Regions from separate parts of the Homo sapiens genome. Here all the other regions are linked to region 3. Evidence: promoter capture Hi-C in human tissues and cell types (Jung and others, 2019). All regions are on one chromosome and are shown on one strand. The core of a region is centred on a gene start or on the middle of the fragment in contact, and the rest is flanking DNA. Distances in the headings are between cores, read along the strand shown.

Region 1 (2,850 bases), core at 83-2,582, 460 kb after region 3:
GAGCAAGACTCCATCTCAAAAAAAAAGAAAAAAAATTTACTTTCTCTAACTTACTTTATTCTGAGAATACAGTATGCAATACATATGACATATATGTGCTCGTCACTTGTTTATATGACTGATAAGGCTGCTGGTCAAAAGTAGGTTAAGCTGTGGCAGACAAAAGATTATATGAGGACATACAACAGGTTGGGGCCTGGCACTTCACCCTGTGTTGTTCAGGAATGAACTGTATCCCTTTTCCATATTTCAAATCACTGAACAGCATTGATGACCACAAAACAAATGTCTCTAATTGACCAAATGAAGACATGATGTCATCCATACCTATACAGTTCAGGTTCCTAATGGTTTCTCGCATCACATCTCTGTAGAGATTCTTCTGTGATGGACCCAGCAAAGCCCACTCCTCATGGGTGAAGTTCACAGCCACATCCTCAAAGGCCACTGAGTCCTGAAACATCCCATATGTCCAGAAAAGGAAGGTTGAAACTCACAGTACTGAGAACCTATACTCACCTTCATAAACTTCCCATGATGCTGTGGTTTCCAAGCATTTATTCAATGACGTGGTAAATCCACTCTTATTCTGTGTCTGCACTCACTGTCTGATGCTGGAATTCTGATGCTGGAATTGGGCTTGCTAAAATAACAGTTGAGTAGGAACATATCTCTTATTGGTGAATTATGCAAGTGAATCTTATTGCCTGGATTACTCCTAATGTCTGTTTCTACAGTGGGTCTGTAGTCCTTGTCATGACAAAGTCCTACCACCTACTGTGCAAAAGAGAGTTACAATTAGCAGTCCTGAGACGGCATATCCTTACAACTGCTTGTTCACAATGTTGAACCTTTCGTGGTGTCTAGACAATGTATTTAGGGGAGGGCCCCGTAAGCATAACTAATAAAGGGGGTGGAGTGTGCCTAAACTATTTGTGTAAAAATTATGGTATTTGCTTAACTCCTAACTTCCCTCTGAGAGTTTGGAATTGTATTACATCCTCAGCAGAGGAAGTGTACCCAATCAGCCACTGCTAGGTTTGAATGTCTTCCCCTCCAAAATGCAGGCTGAAACTGAATCTCCAATGTGGAAGTAATCAAAGGTAGTGGTTTAAGAGGTGAGTGGGTCTTGAGGGTTTGGAACACATGGATGGATTAATCCACTCATGTATGAATGGCTTAATAAATAAACTGGTTATCACAGATGAGGTTCTGGTGTCCTTATGAGAAGAGGAAGATACTTCAGCTAGACACTCAGCCCCCTCATCATGTAATGCCCTGTACCACCCAGGGACTCTACAGAGTCCCCATCAGCAAGAAGATTCCCACCAGATGCCCACTTTGACCTTACTTGATCTTCCCAGCTTTCAGAACTGCAAAAAATAAATATCATTTCTTATAGATTACCCCAGTTCTGGTATCCTGTTGTAAGTAACAAAAAAACAGTCTTATAGACTAAGACATACACAAAGAAACACTCTAGGCACAGGGTCCCTAATGTGCAACTCTGGTAGATGATATTTCATATTTTTGTTGTTGTTGTTTTTTCAATGTCTTACTTGGGGGATTTAGCCTATCCTACGTGATTACACAGAGAGAATATTTGGAAGCTGGTGACTGGTTCCCTGTAGATCAAATGTAGTTAAGTATGACAAAAGACTAATAAAAGAGATTTTACCAACTAAATAGAAAAAATTGTAACTTTCTACTGGGTAATGTCGAAGGAGAAAGAAAAGAAGAGGACAGACTGCAAATGTTCTTAGACAGAATTCAGTGTCAGCTTTCATGAATATCAATTATATTCCATAAATCTCAACAGCAGACATTTAATAATCAATAACATTACATAAACCAATTTTTATAGAAGTCATAAATGTCTAAAGATGCTTAAAAAAAACCTTCTCATCAAGAAAGTAGACAGCTTTACAAAAACAAACAGAAGATTTAAAACTGTAATTTTTCACATCCCATACTATTAACAGAGAGAAAAAGATACATAAACAGGAAAGTGAAAAATGATAGAAAAGCCTTGTATTGTTTTTTCTTTGGCCCCATCTCTGCCCATCTCATTGCCAGTCCTGAAGACAGCAGAGTTCCCAGTGTAGAACTCTGATCACCACAGAGTGTACAGATCACATTTTGTTTCCACATTATTGCCTTTGTATTTTTGAATCAGTCTGGGGACTAACCGAAGGTCTGAAACAAGGCTCTCTTTTCTATTTCATCTACAACAGAATCCAATCAGAGTCAAACTGGGCAGGAACTACTTTAAAATGTTGTAAAATACACAAAAAGTGTGCAACCACCTAGGACAACACAAGATGACTAAGACATACATTAGAAGGCCAGGTGTGGTGGCTCACACCTGTAATCCCAGTACTTTGGGAGGCCAAGGTGTTGGGAACAGGCCCCCAAATCTAGCCATAAACAAAATCTCTGCAGCACTGTGACATGCTCGTGATGGCTATGACGCACATGCTGAAGGTTGTTGGTTTACCGGAATGAGGGCAAGGAACACCTGGCCCACCCAGGGTGGAAAACTGCTTAAGGCGTTCCTGAACCACAAACAATAGCATGGGCCATCTGTGCCTTAAGGACAAGTTCCTGCTGCAGATAACTAGCCAGAGCCCTTCCCTTTGTTTCCCGTAAGGAAGGCTTTTAGTTAGTCTATAATCTATAGAAACAACGCTTATCACTGGCTTACTGTCAATAAATATGTGGGTAAAACTCTGTTTGTGGCTCTCAGCTCTGAAGGCTGTCAGCCCCCTGATTTCCCACTCCACACTCTAAATTTCTGTGTGTGTGTGTCTTTAATTCCTCTAGTGCCGCTGGGTTAGGCTCTCCACGACT
Region 2 (2,700 bases), core at 13-2,512, 310 kb after region 3:
TGGAGTGCAGTGTTGCAGTCTCAGCTCACTGCAACCTCTGCCTCCCAGGTTCAAGTGATTCTCCTGCTTCAGCCTCCCGAGTAGCTGGGATTACAGGTGGCCACCACCCCAGCCGGCTAATTTTTGTACTTTTAGTAGAGACAGGGTTTCACTATGTTGGCCAGGCTGGTCTAGAACTCCTGACCTCAAGTGATCCGCCCGCCTTGGCCTCCCAAAGTGCTGGGATTATAGGCATAAGCCGCCGTGCCTGGCCCCTGAAATACTTTTTAATATAGGGTGTAAGCCAGGCGCGGTGGCTCACATCTGTAATACAAATACAAATACAAAAATTAACCAGGTGTGGTAGTGCGTGCCTGTAATCCCAGCTACTCGGGAGGCTGAGGCAGGAGAATTGCTTGAACCCAGCAGGTGAAGGTTGCAGTGAGCTGAGATCGCACCACTGCACTCAAGCCTGGCGACAGAGCGAGACTCTGTCTCAAAAAAAAAAAAAGTGTGTAACAGTTGGTGAAAAGGTTCAAAAAAAAAAAGAAAAGAAAAGAAAGGTGACACTTAAATTTACATGACTTTTTTTTTTTTTTTTTTGAGACAGCGTCTTGCTCTGTCACCCAGGCTGGAGTGCAGTGGCACAATCTTGGCTCAATGCAAGCTCTGCCTCCCAGGTTCATGCCATTCTCCTGCCTCAGCCTCCTGAGTAGCTGGGACTACGGGCGCCCGCCACCACGCCCGGCTAATTTTTTGTATTTTTAGTAGAGACAGGGTTTCACCATGTTAGCCAGGATGGTCTCGATCTCCTGACCTCGTGATCTGTCTACCTTGGCCTCCCAAAGTGCTGGGATAACAGGCGTGAGCCACCGCACCCAGCCTACATGACTTAACTTTTTACCTTGTTAAACAGAGAGCAATCAACCCTGTGAACGTTATGTTCCAGATTCTGACAAGTGTGTTGAAAAAATTCTACACACTAAATGAAATAGGAGTAATGGGTGAGAGAGTGTGACCTTGAGTTTCAAGTTGGGGTAAGGGGGGCGGAAAAGAAGACAGTGTCTTGAGGTGGTGACATCTGTAGTGAGATCTGAAATGACGTGTTAGTATATGAAGTCAGGAAAGAGGATTCTGGGAAGATGGCAGAATAGGAAGTATCAAGCAGAAACTACAGGAAGCCATTTTTGTGAACTGAGTTCCTCTGCTGGGCCCTCAGAAACCAGACCTACCCCAGCGATTAGGAAATTACACCTAGGCAATCGTCATTGCCCCACACGCTACAAAGAACGTTCAGTAGACAATGGCTTGAGAAATGCGCCCAGTCCAATCTTTGGGTAAGCCAGGTGCAGAGATGTACAAAAAGACTGTCCTTGGCAAAGTTCTATGGTCACATGATGTTTGAGGCAGTTCTGCATATCATATGAGGGCCTTATTGGAGTTCTTGTGTATCTCTGCCAAGAGAGTACTGCACAGCAGAGGTCATTATTGCAACTTCCGTGCCATTTATTTATTTTGAGACAGAGTCTTGCTCTTTTGCCAGGCTGAAGTGCAGTGGCACGATCTCAGCTCACTGCAGTCTCTGCCTCCCGGGTTCAAGGGATTCCTCTGCCTCAGCCTCCTGAGTAGCTGGGACTATAGGAGCCCGCCACCACGCCCGGCTAATTTTTTGTATTTTAGTAGAGACAGGTTTCACCATGTTGGCCAGAATGGTCTCAATCTCCTGACTTCATGATCCGCCCGCCTCGGCCTCCCAAAGTGCCGGGATTACAGGCATGAGCCACTGCACCCAGCCACTTCTGTGCCATTTAATTGTTCACCAGTTGCCACAGGTCTATCTGTGTACACCTGAGTTGCTTGAGTGGTTCTAAACAAATGAATTTAACTTTCATTGTGGTGTTGAATTTTTGTATATACCTTTTATGAATTATTTTGACCGTGGGCTGACCAATATCATGAGTAAAAGATTTAAAAGGTCTAGAGGAGCCAGGCATGTTGGCTCATGCCTATAATCCCAGCACTTTGGGAGGCCGAGGCAGATGGATCGCTTGAGGCCAGGAGTTTAGAGACCAGTCTGGCCAACATGGTGAAACTCCAATTCTACAAAAAACACAAAAATTAACTGGGCATGGTGGTGTTCGCCTGTAGTGCCAGCTACTTGGGAGGTTGTGACGAGACTTGCTTGAACCTGGGAAGCAGAGGTTGCAGTGAGCTGAGATCGTGCCACTGCAATTCAGCCTAGGCAACAGAGCGACACTCTGTCTCAAAAAAAAAAAAAAAAAAGCCATAGGTAGGAAGCAAAATGTAAATAATGAGAAAAATATATATCTTAAGTTCACATTTGAAATATGTAAGAAAATTTGGTGATGCTGCAAATAAACTGAGGATTGTAATTATATAAATTACAAGTTTTTCCTGAGAAAAAACACATTTTCAACCTAAGTACATTGATCTTAAAGGATTTTTCCTTTGCTTTTTGACCTTGCTTTGTGAAAAAGTGCAAAAATAAGACATGAATAGTCAAAATAAGAATTTTTGGGCCAGGCGTGGTGGCTCACACTTATAATCCCAGCACTTTGGGAGGCCGAGGTGGGCGGATCACGAGGCCAGGAGATCGAGACCATCCTGGCTAACATGGTGAAACCCTGTCTCTACTAAAAAAAAAAATACAAAAAAATAGCCAGGCGTGGTGGCGGGCACCTGTAGTCCCAGCTACTCGGG
Region 3 (2,700 bases), core at 15-2,514:
GGCATGGTGGCAGGCACTTGTAGTCCCACCTACTTAGGAGGCTGAGGTGGGAGGATTGCTTGAGTCTGGGAGGTTGAGGCTGCATTGAGTAGCCATCGCACCACTGCACTCCAGCTTGGGCGACAGAGTGAGACCCCGTCTCAAAAAAAGATGGCTAAAACATAATTTTTTTTTTTTTGAGATGGAGTCTCACTGTGTCTCAGGCTGGAATGCAGTGGCACGATCTTGGCTCACTGCAAACTCTGCCTCCCGGTTCAAGCAATTCTCCTGCCTCAGCCTTTCAAGTAGCTGGGATTACAGGCATGCGCCACCATTCCTGGCTAATTTTTGTATTTTTAGTAGAGATAGGATTTCACCATGTTGGCCAGGCTGGTCTTGAACTCCTGACCTCGTGATCCACCTGCCTCAGCCTCTCAAAGTGCTGGGATTACAGGCATGAGCCACCGCGCCCGGCCTGCCTAAATCATAATTTCTATGACAGAATTTCTCATTTACAGCTTCCCCTGAGACCATCTTTCATTTCAGTTAACCCTGCTCCTTGGGGGTTATATGTGAGATAAAAGTGCCATGCTATATCATGTTCCCTGGCTCAGTCCTACACAGCATGTCCTGAAAAATGGGTCTTCAGTCACTGTCAATGCACCAGGGATAGATATACATAGTACTGAGAGCCTCTAAATCTTTAATAAGTTCTGGCTTGGTTAGCTCCCTTACAAGGAAAACCTTGCTGGAGTCCATAGCAGTGTGAGGAAGCCTTGGCCATGCCTCATCCCATTTCCCGCACGCTGGAAGACATCTGCCTCTCTCTCCTGGTGCAGTCGTGCCTTGCCTGGTCTGGGCTCCCCTCCTGCTCTGAGGCAAGCGTATCTCTCCATTGAACACTGAGTCTGAAATGCCCTGCACACACTTGTGATCCCGTGCAGAAGGAAGGAGCAGGGACAGCCCCTTGAATGAGGAAGCTAACAGTGCCTCTTCTAACAATAAGGAGCAAGTCGCCTTGAAATGCAAATATCTGATGACCAGGGCTCAAGGAAGGCGCTCGCTTAGAGAGGCTGTTCGCTTAGAGAGGCTGCTCGCTTAGAGAGGCTGCTCGCTCAGAGACGCTGTGGCCAGAACAAGTCAGACATGATCTGCAGGACCCGGTTACCCAGGGCTTCTGCTGTCACTCAGCACGGAGGAGGCGGGGCCTGGCGCCCCATCCAATCAGGGGTGCTGGGGCGGGGCCCTGTCAACTGTCCATCCGGGGAAGGGGGAAGGGACAGTCGCCCTCCGTCCATTCCTTTAGTGCTGCGCCGACAGCGGTCAGGATCTCGGCTTTCTTGCTTCGAGAGGGACTAGGTGCCTCCACCAGAGCTTCTGTCGCTCTGTAACCTGCACTGTGACCTACACTAGTCGCGGGAGCCACGCAGAGGACGCCGGAACACCCTGGAAGCCGAGAAATGGTGTGTGTGAGGGGGCTGGCGTCCGGGCGACTGGGAGAGGGGCTGGAATCGGCCGGAACCGGCTGAGGCGGGACCCGGGCCTCCACGCGGCGACTCCGGGGTCGTGGACGCGAGTCCCCTCGGTCGCAGGGTGGGGCTGGGCCGGCAGCCGGGACCCCGGGCCTCCTGTCCCGTCCCTTCACGGCGACTGCGGCCCCGGCTCCGGAGCCTAATCTGGGCAGCTCCGCGTCTCCCCACATTATGCGGGGGCCACGGGAGGGATATGGGGGGATCCCGCCTCGGATATGGGGTTTGTTAGAAACAAGTGCCCGGTGCCGCAAAGAAAACCAGCATCTAGGCAGAAAATTCCTCAGCAAAGCAAATTTATTTCTACACAAGGGTGCAGCTTGCGCCAGTCACAAGAGCACAGCGAGCGGGGTAGGGCAGGGGTTTTTCTCCTTAACGCAGTTTCTAGCACTTCTGTGTCCTTTCCTCATTGGCTAGGGTTGGACCTCACAATCTAAACTAACTCGATAGGCTAAGGTTTAAAATTAAATAGGGTCTGGCCAGGCGCGGTGGGTCACGCCTGTAACCCCAGCACTTTGGGAGGCCGAGGCAGGCGGATCGCGAGGTCAGGAGATCGAGACCATCCCTGGCTAACACGGTGAAACCCCGTCTCCACTAAAAATACAAAAAAATTAACTGGGTATGGTGGCGGGCGCCTGTAGTTCCAGCTACTCGGGAGGCTGAGGCAGGAGAATGGCGTGAACCCGGGAGGTGGAGCTTGCAGTGAGCCGAGATCGCACCACTGTACTCCAGCCTGGGCAACAGAGCGAGACAACTGGGCAACTCCGTCACACACACACACACACACACACACACACACACACACACACAAATTAAATAGGGTCTATGAGACGGGAAGGAACAGGGACTGTCCGTTACTAGGCGGGAAGGCGTATCTGGACTTGTCTGGGCGCGGCAAAAGCGGGAAGGTTGTTTACAGAACAGGTAGCTAGGAGACAAGGAAGTCGGTCTCAAGAAACAAAGAACAGCTTACTAAAGCTTTTAGAAAAGTAATTTATCATCTCTGACAGGTTCGTGTGGGAGGAGTAGCGGTCTTTGGGGTCCCCAGTGCCCACTTTTTTCTGTTAAAAATTAAACTGAGGTACGTTAACAATTAAAGAGTTTAGGGCCGGGCGCGGTGGCTCACGCCTGTAATCCCAGCACTTTGGGAGGCCGAGGCGGGCGGATCAGGAAGTCAGGAGTTCAAGACCAG

The links. Contacts are between HindIII fragments. The study calls those that stand out against the background at their distance.
Region 1: a fragment that was not itself captured here is called in contact with the fragment with the promoter of ZNF440 in region 3 in 2 of the 25 tissues and cell types used here (H1 embryonic stem cells and adrenal gland).
Region 2: a contact is called between a fragment that was not itself captured here and the fragment with the promoter of ZNF440 in region 3, in 4 of the 25 tissues and cell types used here (dorsolateral prefrontal cortex, hippocampus, liver and 1 more).

What each region holds. Positions count from the first base shown.
Region 1 is chr19:12,275,629-12,278,478 of GRCh38, forward strand. ZNF44 (zinc finger protein 44) reads right to left here. Exons shown (of 4, transcript NM_016264.4): 2 at 328-454. Among named protein-coding and RNA genes, the nearest start is that of ZNF44, 18 kb to the right of the region's middle. The HindIII fragment of the contact is 9,813 bases long and covers 1-2,850 here.
Region 2 is chr19:12,127,102-12,129,801 of GRCh38, forward strand. No RefSeq gene overlaps it. Among named protein-coding and RNA genes, the nearest start is that of ZNF20, 12 kb to the right of the region's middle. The HindIII fragment of the contact is 9,523 bases long and covers 1-2,700 here.
Region 3 is chr19:11,813,009-11,815,708 of GRCh38, forward strand. It overlaps ZNF440 (zinc finger protein 440), which reads left to right and starts at 1,265. Exons shown (of 4, transcript NM_152357.3): 1 at 1,265-1,442. The coding sequence starts at 1,440. RefSeq lists silencers at 1,100-1,179, 1,600-1,669. The HindIII fragment of the contact is 18,958 bases long and covers 1-2,700 here.